Linked DNA regions of Homo sapiens: all the other regions are linked to region 1. The links are contacts of gene promoters, found by promoter capture Hi-C in blood cells and fetal thymus (Javierre and others, 2016). All regions are on one chromosome and are shown on one strand. The core of a region is centred on a gene start or on the middle of the fragment in contact, and the rest is flanking DNA. Distances in the headings are between cores, read along the strand shown.

Evidence for each region. The method cuts DNA at HindIII sites, captures the fragments that hold promoters and counts their contacts. A CHiCAGO score of 5 or more calls a contact.
Region 2: a fragment that was not itself captured here is called in contact with the fragment with the promoter of FAM177B in region 1 in 1 of 17 cell types (neutrophils); the score reaches 8.3 in neutrophils.
Region 3: a contact is called between a fragment that was not itself captured here and the fragment with the promoter of FAM177B in region 1, in 1 of 17 cell types (neutrophils). The highest score is 13.6, in neutrophils.
Region 4: a contact is called between a fragment that was not itself captured here and the fragment with the promoter of FAM177B in region 1, in 1 of 17 cell types (neutrophils). The highest score is 12.2, in neutrophils.
Region 5: a contact is called between the fragment with the promoter of DEGS1 here and the fragment with the promoter of FAM177B in region 1, in 1 of 17 cell types (neutrophils). The highest score is 5.6, in neutrophils.
Region 6: a contact is called between a fragment that was not itself captured here and the fragment with the promoter of FAM177B in region 1, in 1 of 17 cell types (monocytes). The highest score is 6.0, in monocytes.
Region 7: a contact is called between a fragment that was not itself captured here and the fragment with the promoter of FAM177B in region 1, in 1 of 17 cell types (neutrophils). The highest score is 5.1, in neutrophils.

What each region holds. Positions count from the first base shown.
Region 1 is chr1:222,735,491-222,738,736 of GRCh38, forward strand. FAM177B (family with sequence similarity 177 member B) reads left to right here and starts at 1,712. Exons shown (of 6, transcript NM_001394345.1): 1 at 1,712-1,832; 2 at 2,414-2,531. RefSeq lists an enhancer at 954-1,495. The HindIII fragment of the contact is 3,071 bases long and covers 664-3,246 here.
Region 2 is chr1:224,405,373-224,408,618 of GRCh38, forward strand. The region is part of intron 7 of WDR26 (WD repeat domain 26); the gene reads right to left. Among named protein-coding and RNA genes, the nearest start is that of MIR4742, 8.7 kb to the left of the region's middle. The HindIII fragment of the contact is 3,893 bases long and covers 1-3,246 here.
Region 3 is chr1:224,386,616-224,389,861 of GRCh38, forward strand. WDR26 (WD repeat domain 26) reads right to left here. Exons shown (of 14, transcript NM_001379403.1): 14 at 1-3,245. The coding sequence ends at 3,220. Among named protein-coding and RNA genes, the nearest start is that of MIR4742, 10 kb to the right of the region's middle. The HindIII fragment of the contact is 966 bases long and covers 1,256-2,221 here.
Region 4 is chr1:224,369,151-224,372,396 of GRCh38, forward strand. CNIH4 (cornichon family member 4) reads left to right here. Exons shown (of 5, transcript NM_014184.4): 4 at 2,133-2,273. Among named protein-coding and RNA genes, the nearest start is that of CNIH4, 14 kb to the left of the region's middle. The HindIII fragment of the contact is 948 bases long and covers 1,283-2,230 here.
Region 5 is chr1:224,181,792-224,185,037 of GRCh38, forward strand. DEGS1 (delta 4-desaturase, sphingolipid 1) reads left to right here and starts at 1,449. Exons shown (of 3, transcript NM_003676.4): 1 at 1,449-1,627. The coding sequence starts at 1,546. RefSeq lists enhancers at 625-774, 628-1,458, 1,035-1,124, 1,459-2,288 and silencers at 1,275-1,474, 1,575-1,954, 2,115-2,194. The HindIII fragment of the contact is 20,781 bases long and covers 1-3,246 here.
Region 6 is chr1:223,792,085-223,795,330 of GRCh38, forward strand. TP53BP2 (tumor protein p53 binding protein 2) reads right to left here. Exons shown (of 18, transcript NM_001031685.3): 14 at 1,219-1,356; 15 at 305-438. Among named protein-coding and RNA genes, the nearest start is that of TP53BP2, 52 kb to the right of the region's middle. The HindIII fragment of the contact is 3,013 bases long and covers 15-3,027 here.
Region 7 is chr1:223,768,600-223,771,845 of GRCh38, forward strand. It overlaps CAPN2 (calpain 2), which reads left to right. Exons shown (of 21, transcript NM_001748.5): 17 at 1,242-1,310; 18 at 1,848-1,926; 19 at 3,210-3,246. Among named protein-coding and RNA genes, the nearest start is that of CAPN2, 58 kb to the left of the region's middle. The HindIII fragment of the contact is 2,356 bases long and covers 486-2,841 here.

The sequences.
Region 1 (3,246 bases), core at 462-2,961:
ACACAGTGAGGCCCTGTCTCAAAAAAAATAAAATGACAAACATTTGCATCAATTGTTTTATGCTTCATGGGTTCATTAAATATTCAACGCTCCTTGTTCAGTTTCTACTTATGTTTATTGGCACCTATCACTTCTTAATCTCAAAGGATTTTGATTGGCCTGTTTATGTCTCGTGCTTAGTAATAGCCAACATGATACAGTATTTGTACTATGGTACGCTAAGCTAAAGAGTGTATCATTATCGCTGTACAATAATCTGTAGAAAACTCTATTCCTTGCAAACTTGAGGCAGCACTTTTAGCGTTGTATAAATGCATGCAGAAATAATACCATATTCAGAATTCTTTCAGAATTAGAGTACTCATGCTTTAGAAAATACTGGGTTTCTTATCTCTTAATGTGTGTAAAATAAACTTGGAATGTCACTTTGGGTTACCATAAGTTTGTATCTAAAGATTTTATTTGACATTTGAATAATTTGCTTAAAATTTAAATATTTAAGAATGTTATAGTAATAAAGGGATCAAAATAGTTAATCTGGAAGGGGAGTTGACAAATTATAAAACAGAAAACTATATTTGATTGTGCATATCCAAAAAGCCAGAGCTATCACTTCAGCAATTTAATGTATCTAATGCCTGTGATTTGCTTGAGGTCGGTAGAAGCTTATATAGTCACTTTCAGAGCACTCCCCTGAGAAAATGTCAAGACTTGAATTTGCTTCTCTAATGCAGAGCTTCTCAAGTAGTTTGTCTCAAGCTATTGATCGAAGCCTTCTGGGTGTCTAGCTGGGCAGCACTTAAGGTGGCTGGAGCTCCCAGGCTGGTCGCCTCCAGAATTCCAAACAACTAATTTTCTCTATCTGCCATGATGTAAAAAATGCTGTGAAACACCACAGTGGGACAGGCATGGACAGGCATGCAGGCAGTGGGGTGCATGTATGTGGTTTAATACTGAAAATAAGGATACAAAAATCCTGCCAGGTGATGCTCCTGTAATTCTCAAGGAGCGGCAGTGATTTGTTATTTCACATTTTTCCTCACTCTATCCTTGCCCCTGACACACACACTGCAAGTCACTGATTGGAGCAGGCCAGTTCCTTCAGGTGAAGGGGCCTAGAGAAATGTCGGTGAATACCCAGTGAATACCACGCTGTGAAACTCTGCATCTGAGGCACGCAGTGGGGCTTTGGTTCTCTCCTCTCACCAGGGGTTTGACCTTTCAACCACCTCAGAAAAAAGGAAAGGTGGAAGCAGGAAGGGGGACCAGCAGCTCCAGGCAAGCAATGCTAATTAGCTCCAGCGTAATGACCCAACATCAGTTCTTAGCTGAATTTTAACAGTCCATTTGAAAACATTTTCTAGATAAATGAAAATGGAAAGAGCTCTAGAAAATGTTTAAGTGTTACATACTTAAAATAGTATATTTACTTATTGAAGTTAAATGCCAAGATGTAGAACTAGTGTGTTATTTTCTTGGTACAGATTACAATGCTGTGTTTCAGTGAAGGAGCTAATTGAAATGATTAGTAGATAGATGTAATCAGAAAAATATTAAATGAAGATAGTAATTTCTAAAGCAGGAAATAAAGACAGTTACAAGTCTGTTCTTATTTTTCCAATCTGTTATATAACTCCTCCCACCCATTAACCTTAACTAAATGTATGATTCATTTGTTAAACAAATACTGAGTTCCAGCTACGTGTAAGGCATCATAGGGGCAGAAGATACAGCAGTGAACATAACAGGTAAAACCCTCCCCCTCTGCCAAGGGGCAGGACAGGGAGGAAAGGGAAGACAGAGACAGGTGGAATATGGAGTGTTCAGTGTTGGTAAGTGCTAAGGAGAAAAAATGAAACAGGAGGTAAGATGCAGAGGGTGGTGGTGAAGGCAATGGGAGGTTGCCTTGAAAGCGGAGCTCAGTGTAGTCTCCATTTGAGTTAAAGACTGGAAATGAGCAAGGAAACAGTCTAAGGAAAGAAAGACTAATAGAGCAGCCAGCAGAGAGCTCTCTGCAGAGAGAGAGGGCGGACCTGTGTGGTCAGGGAATTGCAGGAAGAAGGCCCGTGGGGTTAGAGTGATGTCAGTGGTGGGAGAGTAGTACAAGATGGCGTCAGAAAGCTCGTAGGGGTTAGGTATACAGCCTTGTAGGCCATTATGAGGAGTTTGGCTTTTACTCTAGGTGAGACGGGAACCCACTGGAGAGTTTTAAGCAAAGACATGACATGGTCTCACTTAGGATTTAACAATTCTGGCTCCTTTTCGAGCGTAGACTGGAGGGGGCCAATTAGGAGGCTGCTGCAATAATCTAGGTGAGAGACGACGGCAAGGGTGAGAGATGATAGACCAGGGTGGTAGCAGTGGAGTAATGAAAAGTATGATTCCAGAAATATCCAAGACAATTTCCTGGCAGATTTGATGTGAGGTGTGATTAAAGAAGAACCAAGAATGACTTTAGTGTTGTTGGCCTGAGCAACTGGAAGAACAGAGTTGCCATTTATTGAGATGAGAAGGCTGCCAGAAGAGTAGAGGTAAATGTGTGAGTATGTGTGTGTTGGGGGGATGGAGGGAGAGTTGCACTGAAAGCATGAGCAAAGATTTAGACAAATTAGGATTGAGATGTCCATTAGACAACTAAGAAGAGATGTCAAGCAGGTAGTTGGATCTGTGAGACTCAGGGAAAAAGTCTGACCTGGAGAATATAAATGTTACAATCATCTGTGTGTGGATAGTATTGAAAGCCACAGGGCCAAAGGAGATCATCAAGAAAGCAGATAGGAAAGAGAAGAGGTCCAATCACTGAGCCCTGGGGTAATACAATATTTAAAAGGTCAGAGAGATTATATGGCCTGTTAATTACATTATATACTTAGGAACTATCCTTCATAGTCTGTATTTGGGGTTTTTAAGAAACAAAAGGTAGAGGTGCTCCCAAGAATTAAACTGAGCCGGGCGCAGTGGCTCATGCCTGTAATCCCAGCACTTTGGGAGGCTGAGGCAGGAGGATCGCTTGAGTCCAGAAGTTCAAGACCAGCCTGGGCAATATAGGGAGACTCCGTCTCTACAAAAACTGCAAAAAAAAAAAAAAAAAGGCTGGGCGTGTGGCACGTGCCTGTGGGAGGTCGAGGTTGCACCACTGCACCACTCCAGCCTGGGCAAAAGCAAGACCGTGTCTCAAAAAAAAGAAAAAAAAAATTAAACCAAAGCCAAAAGAAGATCACTTACAAAATACCGACATCTAGGTGT
Region 2 (3,246 bases), core at 194-2,693, 1.7 Mb after region 1:
GCTGTTATGAATATGTATGAGTTTTTGTGTAGACATATGTTTCCATTTCTCTTGGGTATATACATAGGAGTGGAATTTCTGGGTCGTATGCTAACTCTGTTTAACATTTTGAGAAACTGCCAAACTGTTTTCCAAGTGGTTGCACCATTTTACAATCCTACCAGCAAAGCTACCACTTATTAATGCTAACCACTACTAGCACTATTCATAAACAATACTTCATTTAATTCTCACAAATCTAGAATATTACCCCCTCTCATATTATAGGGAAAGAAACGAAAGTTTAGAAAGGTTAGAAACATGCCTGTTTGTAGTGCAATGGGGATTTGAATCTGGGCTGCCTCACTTAAAAGCCCATATTGTATGCTATGCAAGCTGAACTGTGAAGTGCAAATGTAGACGTGGCAAGTGACAAGGCTGCAAGAGTTGACATGTTTGTTGTAGGCTAAGGGGTTACATTTTCCCTGTGTGTGAAAAGCCACTTAAAATTTGTAAGCTAGGGAATATACAGTGTGATATTTGGCTTTAGGAAGAGAACTAGGATAACAATGTGGAAGATGAATCAGAAAGACACAGGATAAGGCAACCATAAAGGGACAATGGAACCATAATGAGCCATACATAGTTCACAGTCAGTTCCCAAAAAATGAGGCCCTAACGTAAGATGTTAAGGACTAAAAGAGGTCAGAATCAAAAGATATTTTGGGCTGGACACTATGGCTCATGCCCATACTTTGAGAGGCTGAGGCTGGAGGACTGCTTGAGTCCAGGAGTTCAAGACCGACCTGGACAACATAGGGAGATCCCTGTTATAAAAAGAAAAAAAGATATTGTGGAGATAAAAATGACATGACAGAAAATAACAAAAAATCTTCAAAGACAACCTCCAGATTTCTGGTTTAGGGGATAGGGATGGATGTTTACAAGAAATAGAGGAAGTAAGAATTTGACTAAAGGTGGGAAGAAACAGTAAGTTTTAGACTTTAGTCTTAAGATTTATTGAGTTTAGCTTTGAGCCTGGGGGGATGGGGGGGAAATTCCAATGGGATGACCCACCAGCAGTTGAAAAAAGTTGGGAACTAGTCTGATAAAATTAGGTTGGAGATTCCTCCCCTCCTAAGAAATGTCATTGCAAAATGGATTATGTTTACACTATTGTTTCTTCACTGAACCCTAAGTTTATCATTCATACAATTATCTAGTCCAAATCACCATTGTTTTGATAAAATTGAATAGTTAACAATGCGACTACTTCTGATTCTTCTTTGGGAAGTGGGTAAGAGGTATTTGTATTAGATCAGCAATATCATTAGGTCAAAATGGTTTAAATAATTTACTAAGCAAGTCAAGTCTTCCTGACTAGCTCAAGATCTTCCAGGAACAAATTTTCATTCACAGTACTGCCCCAGATCAACACAAAGATTTGCTTTTAAACTGAAGACAAACTCCTTTAGAAATATTTAACTCAGCCAGGTGTGGTGGCTCATGCCTGTAATCCCAGCACTTTGGGAGGTTGAAGCAGGCGAACAGCTTGAGGTCAGGAGTTTCAGACCAGCCTGGCCAATGTGGTGAAACCCTGTCTCTACTAAAAATACAAAAATTAGCCGGGTGTGGTGGTGGGTGCCTGTAATCCCAGCTGCTCGGGAGGCTGAGGCAGGAGAATTGCTTGAACCCGGGAGGTGAAGGTTACAGTGAGCCAAGATTGCGCCACTGCACTCCAGCCTGGGCGACACAGCGAGACTCTGTCTTTAAAAAAAAAAAAAAAAAAAAAAAAAAAAAATATATATATATATATATATAACTCAAAAACTTTTATGTACATGAATGAAAAAAATATAATCCTATAAAAGATAAAGTTGAAAACAAAAACAATACTATATCTTCATTAGCACAGTGCCTTTATACTAATTTATTCAAAGTGGAAATAACATGTTTGTGGAGCCTATATGACCTTGCTTGGATTCTGCGGGGAATGGGTAAAATTCATCTTTTTTAGGCAAAGAAAAACTGTTAAAGGAAAGTAGGCATTGGAATCACATCAACTCAAATTTTAAGGCTCTCTTAAATGTACTTTTTTCTCTCCATTAAAACACACACACACGTTCAAAAAGGGCATATATATATATATACATATATAAATTTTTTTTTTTTTTTGAGATGGAGTCTTGCTCTGTCGCCTAGGCTGGAGTGCAGTGGCGCAATCTCAATTCATTGCACCCTCCGCCTCCCAGGTTCAAGCAATTCTCCTGCCTCAGCCTCCAAAGTAGCTGGGACTACAGGCACGCACTACCATGCCAGACTAATTTTTTTTATTTTTACTAGAGATGGGGTTTCACCATGTTGGCCAGGTTGGCTTGAACTTCTGACCTCAGGTGACTCACCTGCCTCGGCCTTCCAAAGTGCTGAGATTACAGCGGTAAGCCACCGCACCCGGCCAAAAAGAACACATATTTTCTTATAATTTTTTCAGACAGTATTTGACATAACAAAAATACCATCATACCAAAAGAACCAAACAGTCCCAGAGGACTCACTATAATACAGCTATCTAAAAATTACAGTCTCTAAAAGTCTCTCTGTTTCATATTGGAATGTAAGCATTAACTCTGCATTTCCCAAGCTAATCTGGCAACAAAAGCCCTTTACATGTAACACCTATTAATTCTGCATACCCATTATTCCTGCAAAAACACTCTGGGAAACACTGGCATAAGAGTCTAAACTTCTTAGCAAAGAATACAAAAGCTCCTCCTTGATCTGGCTGCTATTTAATTAACCTCAACTCTAGTCTACCTAAAACTCTTCCCCCAAACCACCTAAATGCCATGTTACGTTTTCTTTTGCCCAAGGGCCTATCCTAACTAGTTTTGCCTAAATAGTTCTTTACCTCTTCTTCACCTAATATTTACTTTTCTTACTTTCCCTAGCTTTGCTGTTCCAGTAGGCTCTCTTTGATGAGCTCCTGTAGCACCCACTATAAATTACGGTGTATTATCATGTGCTTAGTCTGTCTACAGCAAAAGACCTGGCACACAACAGGTGTTTAATAAATACTGGCTAAATGAAGGGGATTCTTATACACTGCTACTAGGAAAAACTAATAAAGCACAGTTTTGGTATTACTACCTTCTTTTTCATATATCATGCAAATAAATGACTGGTGAATGAAAACAGAACTCAGAATAGTATGCAAAGGCTATGATTTGATCCCAAACTCTTTTTCTAGTCTAATCTCCCACTCTGCCA
Region 3 (3,246 bases), core at 489-2,988, 1.7 Mb after region 1:
TACTACTGCTGTTTTTTTCAGACTAAGAAAATACTGACAAAATTGGATTTTTTTCTCCTTTCAATTGCAGGATATTCTGATTATTTAAAGTTAGGGAATCCCTTTTTTATCCCCCCACCCAATAAAATGGGCCAATTTGTAGGGATATATGCAAATAAAATGTTCTCTGTTTAAAATACTTACCTGGTTTAATATAACACATTTATCTGGCCAATAAGAGCAACAGAAATGTAGCTGTTATGAAGACTAAAAAAATACAAAAACCAAAGCTGAAGCTTTGTCATCCCTCCCCACTAACTCCCACTCCAATTCTTTACTACCCACATACTAATCTCAGTAATCCCCAAGTCCAACATTTTACCATTAATAACCAATTATTTGGAGGAAAAAGACATTTAATTTTATATTTGCTCTAGCCCTTAATCAATGCATAACAACAAAAACATTTTTAAGCACATGGAAATGAGCCTACTAACCTGATTTTTGGAGCCCAAATTCTCCACTCTATTTTGATCTATGTGCAAAAAGTATTGGTACTTTTCAATTTATACATTTGTTAGTATCTTGTGGCTGGCTTCATAGTATAAGACTCACTCTTAAGCCTACTATAGAGCCTACAGCACTATCAGAAGTTTTCAATTAATAGCTATGGATCAGAAAATCCTGCGATCAGTTTCTCATACCATAAAATCCTAGGCTTCTTTACCATTGATTTCACCTTTCGAGCACAGTCACTGCATGGCAAATGTATGAAACAGACGTTTACAGCAAATAAGTACCAGTATGTACAGGAAGCTGCCAGTTAAGACAGACCCGGAAAACAAACTCACCTAGCTGCTATAGAAACCTTTGCATAGTTGTTACTCCGTTTTAATAGGAGTTATGTTCTTGTAAAATGTGCCTCACTTTTACTCCACTTTTTAAAAAGTGTTTTTAAACTGTACTTCAGAAGCACTCTGAAAACTCAGATCTAGGGGTGGTTAGGTGAAGTAGAGTAGAATCTGAGTGCCAAATTGCCCCTGAATGGGCACAAATCTGAGTGTTACAAATGCACCGTAGCACACTGTAACCAAATTTGTAAACAGCTGTGGAGTTTCTATGCCCACATTTAGTGATGTTACCATAGAGACTGGGGTGTATTAACGGCTTCAGGGTATACATGAATCACTTAAAATATGAATGGTTTTTAACTATACTGAGGTAAAGAGAAGTTGCCACTTAATTACATACAGTTACCAATGAAGATTTTTATTCAAGCTTAAAGTAAAAAGTAATTTTAGTTAAGAAAAATGAAGTACCAGATAAACTGTAACATATATTTTAACTTAGAAGTATCAAAACAGGAATTTTTTGATTCTCTAAGTGGTGGTCTCTGCAAAATGGAGCTTGAAGAAATCTTTTACATACCAATTTGATAAGAGTCTGCTGACCACGATCTGTCATTTTCTTTACTATGGGCTTCTGGGAGAATGCATGCTATTTTAAGGCCAAATGTGTTTTTCTTTCTTCTCCCCTTCCCTGACTTTTCCCTTTCTCCCATCCCCGACCACCTACCCCACAATGGAAGAATTTTTGACATCCAAGCCCTCTTCTCTTTGTGGATTCTGGAGTCTATTCATGATCATAATTATATTATAGACTTGGCTACACCTAAAGGGGAACTTAGTACAAGACTTTTTCTTCACCAGAATCTTATTTTGGGGGTATCCCCATTCTCATTCCAACAGCTGGAGTCACCCTATTTATCCTCTACTGAAAAAGGGAGGGAATTTCAAGGGAGACTATGTTATGTTGTATTCAGCTGTTACGGAGTTTAAAAGCACAATGTGAACATCAGGCTTTTGGCTTATTTTAAATGTGAAATTCTCAAAATTAAAAGTGCTTTTCCATGAAGGAAACCTTTCCTTAAACTAAAACAGGAGGGGAGAGGGAAAGACTATCCACAGCACCAGTTTAGAATGAGGTTCAGTATGGCAATATCTGAAAAAACTGAGAAAAAATATTCTTTAAATTTATGTATCCCTATATGTCAAAATATTAAGGGCAATTAAGAAAAATGACTATGAGGTTTTAATCCCAGTTTAAGTATGTCTGTAACCTGCTGAATTCTTCTAATAATTTCAATTATACTATAAACTTCCAAAGTGGTTGTATCGCTGATTCCTACTCTTTTGCTAGATCACACCAAAATTACTTCCTAAGTTGAGAACAACTTGGAACAAGCTTTACTGAAAACCAACTGACTACTGATGTCTCATGTTGGTGTATTTAAAATTCTTTTTGAATCTTGAATTTCTTCAAGATCGGGTACTGATGTTCCTTCAGGAATAAAACAAAAGGGGGGAAATCTTCAAAGCATTACTCTGAATTTCTTGTGTAATGTCCTTCCAAGCACTGTTTCTGACCATGTCTCATGTGGTATTCCAGAAGAGCATCAGTTATACTGTGTATCTAAGTCATTGAGGAAACTGTTTTTAAGCTGGTTTAGATTCCAAATGTATACAAATGAAGTCACTTTAATCCTATAAATACTTCTTAATTTATTTTTAAAAAATTGTGCTGTTAACCCTTTTACGGGGCAACAAGCTATGTGAAAAGTACAAAACTTTTTGTCAAATGTAATATTGAGAGTGCTTTTGACATAGTTCACTGGTTTATCATCTGGATCAGTATATACTGCGCAACGGGCAAGGCTAGAATCCATGAACCAAGCTGCAAAGATCTCAAGCTAAATAAGGCGGAAAGATTTGGAGAAACAAAAGAAGGAAATTCTTTCCTATCCAATGTATACTCTTCAGACTAATGCACTCTTTCTATCAAGCCTTCTAAACTGTTAAATAAAGTTTTCCAAACAAGCATTTAAACTTCATTACACAGAAGAGCAACAAGAATGGTATCCTGCCAGACAAAAGACAGGAAGGAAAAAAATATATATACTGAGTTCAATGGGTAAGCCTGAATGTAGCACAGTTCTTCACAACCGATGGGGGAATAATTCAACATGGTGTCCAACAACGTTCTAACGACGTGCTTCATCTCAACTGGTTACTATGAAGCAAGGTGTAAATGTTTGGCCCCAATCGGGCTTCAGAAATGGTTCTTTTTTCATGACGAGCATGTCTGTCCAGCTATCAATCATGTTTGTTTGCACCAAATCCCAAGCCATTAAAATACGACTAATTTTAAGTTAAACAGAAGTCGTCTGCTCCAAATTCACCATCAACTATCCATGCTACTGCATTCCTC
Region 4 (3,246 bases), core at 507-3,006, 1.6 Mb after region 1:
TGCTGAATGGTCTATTATGGTAAAGTTGTATCAGTCTTCTAGTTATAACGCACTGGAAGTAAGAATTAATATGAAAGATTGGCTGTCAGACACTGGAAGCCTTATATAGTCCTGTTTTAAATTATTCCTGTGTGTTTTAGAGATGAGCGCAGTGGCTCACTTCTGTAATCCCAGCACTTTGGGAGGCCGAGGTGGGAGGATCACCTGAGGTCAGGAGTTCAGGACCATCTTGGCCAACACGGGGAGACCCCATCTCTACTAAAAATACAAAAATTAGCTGGGCATGGTGGTGTTGGGCACCTGTAATCCCAGCTACTCCGCAGCCTGAGGCAGGAGAATTGCTTGAATCCAGGAGGAGGAGGTTGCGCTGAGCCGAGATCTTGCCACTACACTCCAGCCTGGGCAACAGAGCGAGATTACGTCTAAAAATAATAATAATAATAAACTAAAAAAGTATAACTGGATCGTTTGTAACACAAAGGATAAATGCTTGAGGTAATGGATACCCCGTTTACCCTGATGTGATTTTTTTTTTTTTTTTTTGAGACGGAGGTTTGCTCTTGTTGCCCAGGCTGGAGTGTGATACCGCAATCTTGGCTCATTGCAACCTCCGTCTCCCGGGTCCAAGCGATTCTCCTGCCTCAGCCTCCTGAGTAGGTGGGATTACAGGCATGCGCCACCACGCCTGGCTAATTTTGTATTTTTAGTAGCAATGGGATTTCTCCATGTTGGTCAGGTTGGTCTTGAACTCAACCTCAGGCAATCCTCCCGCCTCGGCCTCCTGGAGTGCTGGGATTACAGGTGTGAGCCACTGTGCCCAGCCTTACCCTGATGGGATTAGTACACATTGCATGCCTGTATCAAAATCTCTCATATAACCCATAAATATATATACCTACTGTGTACCCACAAAAATTAAAAATAAAACAAAAATACAAAAAGGAAAAAAAAGACAGCTAAGTAAGTGGTGGTAGGAAGAAAGACTGGACAAGGGTTTGATGGACTGGCTATGAAAGATGAGGAAGAGAGAAGTCCCAGTTGGGTAAGAGGAAGTTTTTAAGGACCACCAAGAAAATGGTGACACTCTTATTAGATAACCTAGAAATTAGACAAGGATGAGATGTTATCTGGATATTCAAATGAAAATACCCTCTATTCAGCTATAGTCGGGCTACTGGGGTTTTAAGGGAGAATTTCAGATTTGTGGAACTCAGAGAGTCCTTTGCATTTCAAAGAAGTGATAATTGAGAAGCTGTGTGACAACTAAGGTTGTACTAGAAGAAGCTTAGACGTGAGAGCAGGAAGAATTCATGGACAGTGCTAGGTTAGGACATATATGTTACACAGATGACACAGTCTGGATGTTGAAGCCCAGACACTTAAATTCATTGATCCTCTCAAAGTAACCTAACTTCCTTAATTTCCCTGTTTCCATAATGAAGTTTCTAAGAACTTAATAAAATTGGTTTGGGTTTGAAGCCTTCTTTAACCTTTGTCTAATGGAAAAGGGCTGTAGATGTGACTGGTATGGTAGTTTTCTACAGATGAGTAAAAGGGTTTCAGTGCATAAAATATCCTTTTCTGGAATGTTACTGTATTTATTTTACAGGGCAGAAGATTAACAGTATTATAACTTTCAAAAGGAAACTAAGTGGCAGCCCATGACATTATCATACTACTCTGTACATATGTGGTATGAATTTAAGGCTGCTATGATTGGCTCACTTTTTTTTTTTTTTTTTTTGAGATGGAGTTCTGCTCTGTCACCCAGGCTGGGGCTCAATGGCACGATCTTGGTTCACTGCAACCTCTGCCTTCCGGGTTCAGGTGATTATCCTGCCTCAGCTTCTCGAGTAGCTGGAATTCCAGTTGCCTGCCACCATGCCCAGCTAATTTTTGTATTTTTAGTAGAGACAGGGTTTCACCATGTTGGTCAAGCTGGTCTTGAACTCCTGACCTCAGGTGATCCACCTGCCTTGGCCTGCCAAAGTGCTGGGATTACCGGCATGAGCCACAGTACTGGGCCTGATTGGTTCACTTTTAAAAGTCGATTATTATTGGCTACTTATATTTGAATACTTATGCCTATGATTTGATTATCCTTCTAATGTGTGTATCCTTTAATTTATCAGATACATTATGGTGCCGAGTGGTAACATGGGAGTGTTTGATCCAACAGAAATACACAATCGAGGGCAGCTGAAGTCACACATGAAAGAAGCCATGATCAAGCTTGGTTTCCACTTGCTCTGCTTCTTCATGTATCTTTATAGGTGAGTTTAAAGTCCTGGTATTTTCCTAGATGCCATATTTGTTTTTGAAGGGTGAGATATTACTATACTATAGGATTTTGCATTGACATTGTGGAACTTTCGGGGATTATGTAAATTCCTTGTGGCTGTGTAGATTATTTATGTATGTCATTGAATCAGCTTTCTGTCTGAACTACAGTAGATCTACCCTGTTGCATCTTAGTTATGCCTTAGCTTTGAGGCTATCCACATGCTTAAAACAGGGCACGGTGACTTACGCCTGTAATCCCAGCACTTTGGGAGGCCGAGGAGGGCAGATCACCTGAGGTCGGGAGTTCGAGACCAGCCTGACCAACATGGAGAAACACCGACTCTACTAAAAATACAAAATTAGGTGGGCGTGGTGGCACATGCCTGTAATCCCAGCTACTTGGGAGGCTGAGGCAGGAGAATCACTTGAACCTGGGAAGCAGAGGTTGTGGTGAGCCAGGATCGCGCCATTGCACTCCATCCTGGGCAACAATAGTGAAACTCTGTTTCATATTTTTTTCCTTCCCTAGTAGTATACAGCTGTGGAGTTCCACTGCCTGTTATAAGCATTAATATATGTGCCTCAGCGACCATCCCACTCATGGTCTTTGGGGGATCACACCACTAGCAGCAGCTCTCAGCAACTTTTATCCAAATTGTGCTGATCTTTCTTGGCAATAAGTAATTTAGGTGTGATGCTCATTCTCCAGCATGCTAAATGTCTATTATGGTAAAGTTGTATCAGTCTTCTAGTTATAACACACTGGAAGTAAGAATTAATATGATAGATTGGCTGTCAGACATTGGAAGCCTTATATAGTCCTGTTTTAAATTATTCCTGTGTGTTTTAGAGGTGAACATGCCACCTTTTCCTTTATCCATCATAGATGCATAGAATAGAGCAAAGGAGAAAAAAAAATTCCTGTGTATACGATTTGATTAAACCTTTGAAAAGCTAGAAGTC
Region 5 (3,246 bases), core at 199-2,698, 1.4 Mb after region 1:
TCATAATTCCTTAATATCATCACATATCCAATTGATATCTGAGTTCAATTATTTCATGTCAATGTTTTTAAACTATTTCAATCAGAATCTAAATGAGGTCAACACGTTGCAATTGGTTGGTATGTCTTTTAAACTCCTTTTAATCTACAGGTTTCTCTTTTTTTGCCTTGAGTTTCATTTATTAGAGAACCCAGACATTGTCCCATATAGTCTCCCAGAGTTGGATCTTGCTAGTTTCATCCCCACGGCCTAGTTTAACACATTCCTCTGTCCTTTCTATTTTCTTTTTTTTTTCTTGAGAGGGAGTCTCCGTCTGTCCCCCAGGCTGGAGTGCAGTGGCTCCGTCTCAGCTCACTGCAACCTCTGCCTCCCAGTTCGAGCGATTCCCCTGCCTCAGCCTCCTGAGTAGCTGGGATTACAGGCGCCTGCCACTACGCCCAGCTAATTTTTTTATATTTTTAGTAGAGACGGGGGTTTCACCATCCTGATCAGGCTGGTCTCGAACTCCCGACCTCAGGTGATGGACCCGCCTCTGCCTCACAGAGTGCAAGGATTACAGACGTGAGCCACCGCACCCGGCCAAATGTCCTTTCTATTTTCTATAAATTAACAGTCAGATCTAGGGGCTCGATCAGATTTGTGTGTGTGTGTGTGCCGTGTGCGCGTGCACAGCATGTTCTTTGACTAGGAGGCACACCTGCTTTGGTTATCTTCTTTTTGTAATCTTTAAGTTGCTCTTTGATGTAGACGTGGTAACTAATGTTGAAACAAAATTAGTTTCGTTTCAAAACCTTTCTTTCAGGAAGAGGTTGTGGTTGATTACTTCTGCGACAGGTAGATGCAAGGTTGAGCAATCATCTCTTAACAGAAGTGGTCACACTAGAATAATTCAAGCACAACAACAAATCCCACATCATCACCCCCTCTTAATAATGGTGTTTTCTTTTTACTTGATTAGCTTTTAATTGTCACGCACTCTGCATTTTTTCCCTGAGGTATTATTTCCAGAAGGCAGCGAAATATGACTCAATGGCTAATTTGCTTTTTAAAAATTAAACAAAACTTAGGCCAGCTGCCATTTAAGAAGGGCTCCGGGGCCTCCAGACTCGGTGTGACCGTAGCCGTGCCCGGTGCTCCCCTCGCGGAGGCGTTAGGGCGGCAGGTTTATCTCACTTGAGACCATTCCTTCCTTTTTCATCTTCTCCGGGCTCCGGCGCAGCAGGCCGCAGGGGCGGGCACTCGCAAGAACGCGGCATCCTGGATGGTGGCCGAGTCACCGAAGCTCAGAACCCCGCGTCCCAGAATCGCTGAGAGCCGGCCCCGCACGGGGGCCTGGGAGCGCCACGCGCCCTCCACCCAGAGAGGCAGGCGGGCGGGCCGGGGGGGGCGGGGCCTCGGGACTCCGCCCACGCCTCCGTCTCCTCCGCGCTCCGCCACAGCCGGCCGACACCACACCAGCCGGGGAGCCGCCGCCGCCGCCGCCACCTCTGAGCAGCCGGCTGGGAGCGAGAGCCGACAGCTAGTCTGCAAGCCACCGCTGTCGCCATGGGGAGCCGCGTCTCGCGGGAAGACTTCGAGTGGGTCTACACCGACCAGCCGCACGCCGACCGGCGCCGGGAGATCCTGGGTGAGGGCCAGCGGGCGCCCCGTTATGTGCGTGCGTGGCCTCCCGGCGCCGGGGCGCGCTCTCCCCTCGCGGGCCCTGCGCGGTCGTGGGCGCCGGAGGCCCGTTAGCAGCCTGCTCCCCGTCGCGTCCCGTCGCCGCTCGGGCCGCCAGCCCGCGGGTCAGCGCGGGAGAGGCTGGGCGAGGAGCGGGGGGAGGGACGGGTCCTCGGAGCCGCGCAGCTCCGACCCTTCCGCGAAGAGGCGCAGGCGCGTCCCCGAGCGCGGGAGTCCCCGCCAGGCCCACGCCGGCCGGTTGGGGCGAAGGGTGTCCCCGGCTGTGCCAGCCTTGAGTAGATCTTTTCGCTAGAAGATTCCTGTGCCCTCAGGTGGGCGCCCTTTCCTCTCACCACTCCCTCTCCTCCGGAGCGGGCCGAGGTGAGCGGGTGCCGGCCTTGGGGCTGCCTGAGTGCTAGGCAGGGTGTGGTCCTGGGCATCCTTGGGCCTACCAGCGAGCCCTGCTCAGGGTGTCGGGCGCCGGCGGGCAGTACTGGCGGGGGCGGCCGCAGTCCCGGCCTTGGGCCCGTTAAGGGGGCCGGCGTCCCTCCATATGCCCCCCGGGGCTTCTCGGACTTGATGGGCCCTGGTCGGTTCACGCCGCTTGTCCCATTGATCCTCACGACAAGCCTGGGACGTAAGAACGGCGGATTCGTAGGCATTTTTCATCCATCTCGGTTTTGTGGATGAAAAGACTGAAAATGGAAGACTTGCCAAATAAGGAAAATATGTGGCGTGGCCTGCTGGTCCCCTGACAGCTAATTGAGAGGCCTTAACTCTCCAGAGGATTCGGGCCTTCTGTGTTACATAGAGAATGCTCATCTCTCCCAGGCTACTCCTAATATGCTAGGGATTGTGTGGAATGCTTTACAAACATTACCCAATTTCATCCTCTTGGTAATTCTACTTGGTTGGTATTATCGCTGTTTTAAAAAATGAAATAAGAACGCGTGACTAAATGCTAGGGGGATTCTAATGCGCATTCGGTTGCCTCTTCCAGAGCACGTGTTTGTTTTTTGTTTGTTTGTTTTTTGAGACTGCACGTGTTTGTTTTTTGTTTGTTTGTTTGTTTGTTTTTTGAGACTGAGTCTCACTCTGTTGCTCATGCTGGAGTGCAGTGGCGCGATCTCCACTCGCTGCAACCTCTGCCTCCTGGGTTCAAGCGATTCTTCTGTCTCAGCCTCCCGAGTAGCTGGGATTACAGGTTCCCACCACTACGCCTGGCTAATGTTTGTATCTTTTTTAGTTAGAGACGGGGTTTCACCATGTTGGCCAGGCTTATCTCGAACTCCTGACCTCAGGTGATCCGCCCGCCTTGGCCTCCCGAAGTTTTGGGATTACAGGCGTGAACCACCGTGCCCGGCCAGAGCACGAGCTTTTTAACCTCTGTTGAGGAAACGGGGACCGGTCACGGTAGCTCAGGCCTGTAATCCTAGCACTTCGGGAGGCTGAGGCGGGAGGATCGCTTCAGCCCAGAAGTTTGAGACCATCCTGAGTAACATAGTGAGAGCCCCCCGTTTACACACACACACACACACACACACACACACACACACTTTTTTTAAATTGAGGAAACGGTGAGTTGAA
Region 6 (3,246 bases), core at 271-2,770, 1.1 Mb after region 1:
GCACTTCTCTCTTAAGCTTTGCTTAAGGATGCTAATTAACTGTGTACTACTTTGTTACACTTATTTTTATCATTAACTACTAAACTTTTTAAAACTCCACCTACTTCCAGGATGGGAATGAGATGACTGTTACATGAACACATGTTAATTCCTCAAAAATAGATACCACATTTCTCCAGCTAGATTACAAGCAGCTCAAGGACATAACTGACATACTTCTTTGTCTTCCAACAGCACTATGACAACTGCTTATAAACCGATTCCCACAACTGAAGTTTGACTGGAGTTTAAAAGAAAATCTTACCATCCATCACTATCAGCAGCATTTACATTTACACCAAACTGTACCAGGAACTTAACGATTTCTGTGTGGCCTGCACACACAGCATTGTGAAGAGCCGTGATGCCTTCATCATTGGGGAGGCTTGGGTCATCAACCTATATCAAGAAGAAGGGTGAGCATCACTCTAGTTTCTTGTCACCTGAACTGTCACTACTAACTGGCTCCTTTAGGGTCAAGAGGACAGAAATGGACTCTTGTGACACTTTTAAAAATCATAATTAAAACCTATAGGAGCCAAGAAAACTATACCAAGAACAATTCTAGAAATAAGACAGACAGAAAAACCACATTAAGTAGGCAGTCACTATAAAAAGGTTTTTTTTAAAAAAAGGAAGTACCAGAAACTATATCCTTATAGTCATTTTTGTTTATTTATCCTCCCAGCTTCTCACCACAAATTAGTTTCTAAGTAGAAGTTGCATTTGCTATGGAAAGCAAAAAAAAAAAAAGGTCAACTAAAAATATTTTAAATAGTAGGCTTCTAAAAGTAGAGACCGCATCTCTAACCTAATACAGTATAGTACAAATCCATACATGAACAATTTCTAAAGGGGAGTAATGATCTCTCTTAAGAAAGAAAAGTACTCTAGAGGACTCCAAGTGAAAACCGAACTTCCAAATGATGACAATTCCATAGTCATACCTTTAAAACAGCATAGCCTATTCTAAAGCGTGCCCAAGAGTTCCTGAACACAACCCCACAATGCCTAAAAGGAAAACAATTTTAAAATACAATTTCTCTACAGTCGCTTTCTAATTAGAGCTTTAAAACAAAATACAAGGTCATATTTTAAAAATTTACTAATTATACTCTAGCCTGGATGACAGAGCGAGACTCTGACTCAAAAAAAAAAATTTACTAATTATAATCATACCTCATAAATAATTCTCTGTACAAGGTCAAATTCTCCCTCCAAAGACGAATCTAGCAGTAAAGCAAGGGGGTTGAATTTCACCCTCATTCCATGAGCGATACGCTCTGAGCCAGTTTTACGCAAGTTTGTCCTTTTACCCTGCAAAGAAAATGGGTGGAAAATTTAGGATCCTCGTCTATGCAAGAGAACAACAGCAGCAAATGGGAAGGAATGACTTCTCACCTAAATTAGTGAGAGGCACTTTAACAATATAGATTTGGCACATTTTATTGAAGTATAACATTATTCAGAAAAGTATACGAATCTGACATGCAGCGTAATGAACTTTCACAAAGTGAACAAATACCATGGAGCAAAGTTGGAGGAACATAACTTTATAAAATCTAACATAATTACGTTTGGGTTATATGTTATAGTATGAATTAAACTAAGAGTATAATCAGAAGTGGCAAATAGGCTAGCGTTCTGTCAAGTATCAGAATTAGCCAAGACTGGTCTTTAGACTGCCTATCTAATACAGTACAGCAAACTCCACTCTCTTAAAGTGAGCAACAGCACAGCCCACAACTACAACAGCTAACCTATATTGAATGATTATTCATTAACCCTCACAAAAACCCTATGATCCCTAGTTTACAGATAAGGAAACCAAGGCACACAGCCGGCAAATGGCAGAGCTGGGACGCAAATCCAGGTAAGCTGGCTTCTTTAAAGTCTGCCATCTTAACCATTTCACACCAGAATGCCTCCTCGGGGGAAAGCATATAATTAAGGTAAATAATACAGATTATTAGTCTGTCTTAGGTATAACAAGGATAAATCCTACCAGCTTAAACTTTTAATGAATCGGACTTAAAAAAAAAAAGGCAAAATTTTAAAGACTAGATCCAGTATCCTGTAAAACAGGTTTCTTAAACACACCCAACAAAGTAGAGACGTTTACTGTTGTGAGGTGTGATATATGTACTCCACATAATTCTTTCATTTTATCTCAGATGTGGAAAATTGCCAAGTTTTAAAAAACATTAAGCGACAATACATTTCACAATGTGCAATGACTAAAATGTTGCTCTCTGAATGTTATCTGACTGTGGTTAATACAAGTCATAAGCAGTACAGTGTAATGACACTTGCCGATCCCACTGTTAAAGAATGTACGAGATAGTTGCTTCTATTTTACTTAAATCGAGAAGGAAAAGGTAAGACACCTTCCTAGGAAGAGAACAGCAGAATCTTAAAAAGAAAGTATAATACTTTTACCAATTCTAGTTTTCCTTTTTTCTCCTTGAAAATGTGGATTATTTTGACACAGCAACAAAAAGGCCAGAAAATAACAAGTGGCTGTAACGTGGATTGGTTTTGGCCAATGTGGAATAAAACGTCCTTCTTTTCTTATGTTTAAAACTCAAAGAGAATCAAGCCTCAGAACTTACGAGGCACAGGGTTGTTTAAAAACTGTTAACCTCTATTTTAAAACTTTTTTTTCTAGCTTCAAATGTTTAGTACATAAAACTTTTAAGCAAACATTTACTGTAACCAATTGTTAAAAATAACTGTGGACAATTATTATCTTTGAATACTATCATATCTAAAAGATAATAAGGAATCAAACATGCAAAGTACATTTAAAAAAATTCTTTTAATGCTATTTTGCTTTTCACCAGGTTTTAAATTCATAGTTCAGCATCCTACTTCCTTCCGTGCTTACTGAAGCAAAGTGGCTTCAAATTAAACTATGAAAAAGCAGACTTCATTCAGACATTCTGGGATTTTTATTTTCTCTCACCTATGTCAAAGTGAGAGGATGGAAGCTTAAATTTCAAACAAAAGCTTACTATCTGGAAGGAGTGTAGAAGGTGCACTCAAGCCAAAACATACAAAATCTTAGAATAACTTTCGTATGTTAAAGTACAAAGAAATCTTAGGGATCACCATATTAGCCAGAGATTTTCAGACTTCGTTGAAGGGGAGGAAGAGGCTGAAGAGGGGCCCCTCAGCCCAGTTACCCCTCCCTGCCCTCACTCCATC
Region 7 (3,246 bases), core at 414-2,913, 1.0 Mb after region 1:
TAGTTTGAAGTCAGGTAGTGTGATGCCTCCAGCTTTGTTCTTTTGGCTCAGGATTGACTTGGCGATGCGGGCTCTTTTTTGGTTCCATATGAACTTTAAAGTAGTTTTTTCCAATTCTGTGAAGAAAGTCATTGGTAGCTTGATGGGGATGGCATTGAATCTGTAAATTACCTTGGGCAGTATGGCCATTTTCACAATATTGATTCTTCCTACCCATGAGCATGGAATGTTCTTCCATTTGTTTGTATCCTCTTTTATTTCCTTGAGCAGTGGTTTGTAGTTCTCCTTGAAGAGGTCCTTCACATCCCTTGTAAGTTGGATAAGATCGTCTTCTTGATTTAGATAAGGGCTACTTTCATGAGGATCCTACTTCCCTTTTGCTCTAGCTCCTTCCCAGGCCACCCACCTTTCCCCAAGGCAAACTAGTCATCCATTTCCCCCTTGTTTCCAATGCTTAGTGAGAAGTGGTGGTAAGGGGCAGCCTAAGCTTCTGTGAAGTTTTTTCTGTTTGTTTGTTTAGTTGGTTGGTTGGTTTTTTGAGACGGGGTCTCACTGTGTCACCCAGGCTGGAGGGCAGTGGCATGATCTCAGCTCACTCGAACCTCCGCCTCCCAGGTTCAGGTGATTCTCCCCCCTCCAGCCTCCCTAGTAGCTAGGACTACAGGTGCGCGCCACCATGCCCAGCTGATTTTTCTATTTTTAGTAGAGACAGGGTTTCACCGTGTTGGCCAGGCTGGTGTCGAATTCCTGACCACAGGTGATCTGCCCACCTTGGCCTCCCAAAGTGCTGGGATTAGAGGTGTGAGCCACCATGCCTGGCCACTTCTGTGAAGTTTTATCTAGTGGATTCATGGTGTACACCTGCTAGCTCCCTTCACCAAAGGCCTCTTAGATATACTCCACATACTTTAAAAAAAACAGCAAGGGCCTAGCCACTAGAAGCCATCCAAAGCCCTCTGCATGTCATCCAATACCTCATTTTTAGTAGTATCTGGGGCCTCCACAGCACCCCTAGATCAAAACAGCAACCAGATTCGGCAGGGAGCCAGCAGGTCTTTCTCGCCCTTCCTCCAATCCTTTAAATGGAGGTTTAGCCAGTGGGAAAAGCAGGAAAAGGATCCTTCTGCAAACCCTCCTTGTGTATATGCTATGATATTCAAAAGATCCAGTTGAGAAGACAAACTAGGTGACACTATGTGCAAATGGACCCACACTCAAGGGCTTTCCTTGACTGAAGGCAGTCGGACGGGAGTGGCAAGCTGGGGCTGAAGGAGTTCTACATTCTCTGGACGAAGATTCAAAAATACCAAGTAAGATCCCAGAGATGCGGGTGGATCTGTGTTGGGAAACATTCTGTTCATATGCTTTAAGATGCAGCAACTCCTGCACAGAGTGGAGAAACATTTCCAAGGGGATTGGGATTTTACCCATAATGAAGCTCAGAGTGAGTAAAGATGGGGCTGAGGAAATGCAAACAAAAAACCAACCAGGACTTCGCAGGTGAAATGGCCTATTCCCTTCCTCCTGATTATTGGGATCATCTAAAGGCCACCATCAAGGGTTTCCTGAAAAGGGTTTTTGACAGCTAAAGTACAAAAATTATATAAGACAAGAACATGGACCTATGGGCGTTGGCTGGCTGATTTGATGGGCATATTTACAAACCAGCTCACAGACAGAAGCAAAATACTATTAGTTATTTAAGGCAGAAACATAAGTGATTCTTCCACGGCCAAACTAGAGGCACAGAGCTGGAAAAACTTCATCCCCACTCAGCACATACTAGGGAGGTAACTTGCCAGCTTTGCTTTGGGTCATAGTTCTTACAGCTAACTTATGTGTTCCAGAAAATTTACCGAGAAATCGACGTTGACAGGTCTGGTACCATGAATTCCTATGAAATGCGGAAGGCATTAGAAGAAGCAGGTAACCCTTTATAACTGCATTTTCGTTCCTAGTTTAATCTGTCTGTAGAATATGTGAACACTCATCTTATACCATATAACACAAGATTTGGTAAAGCTATAAAATAAAGTAGGTGCTGGTTTAATACAGACACCTCCTTTTCATTCCCCTTTCAAAGACTAATTGGTAAAATTAAATGCAGTAGGATGCTCTGCCCTCTGTGCCTTCTTGAATCCAAGTTTCCTTTGGAGCCGCCTGGCACAGTAAGCAGGCAAAGCCAGGTCTCAACAGCCTCCTCCAGGTGCTTCCTTTCTGGTGCAGGGTTGGTTAGGCAGAAATCAAATGTCTCAGCTCAGCCCTTAGGGTAAGACCCTAGCAGAATTGGATATCAATAAAAGGACACAAGCGAGTGGTAGACCAGCAAAGCAGGAGACTGCTGGGCTTTGGGAACAAATGTGTCAGCATGAGGCTGTTCATTCTATTTGCTGGAATATAATGCTGCTGCAGAGACCCCACACAACATTGGTTTATACGAGGTATGTCTTTCTGTCGTATAGCAATCCCAGCTCCAGCAGTCCACGGCTAGGACGGTGCCTCCTACTATCCTACCATGTCACTATCTGATCACGCTTCCCCCAGCCTCCCCCCATCCATGATGCCCACCGGACCTTCAAGGGTCACCCTCATCCAAGGGACCTGGGACAGCCTGCCACCACAAACACATGCCACCAACAGGTTGACAGAAGAAGGGCCCCTTGCCTTTAAGGGCACACAGGCCATTTCCGGTCACACATCCCACCAGCCAGACTCTGATCACAAGGCCTCTGTTGACTGCAAGGAAGCTGGGACATGCAGTCTTGATGCTAGGTGGCCATAGGCTCAATAAAAATTATTTTACTCTGGAAGGAGAGAGAACTACTATGAGTTTACCAGGAAAGCTTCTGCTCACATATATCCAGGAAGAATCTGATCTTCAAGACGATTGAGAGCTAAACAAAAAATCAAACAGCAGCAGCATGGTTAACAACATGAAGCAACTGTGACCATGAGAACAGAAACAGGCAAGAAAACACTTATGTGTCAGCAAAGGACACAGGCAGGGTGAAGGTGGACAGTTCAAAAACAAAAGAAACAGCAGAAGGTACTGGCTTTGCAAAATCAAACCAGTCTCACAGAAGAGCAGCCAAGGGACAAAAGCAATTATACCTCATTTAAATCACCACATTAGTTTCATAGCCTGTGAGCGCAGCTAAATGGAACAATCTAATGCTTAGCAATGAGTTTGTTTGTTCATGTAACTTCAGGTTTCAAGATGCCCTGTCAACTCCACCAAGTCATCGT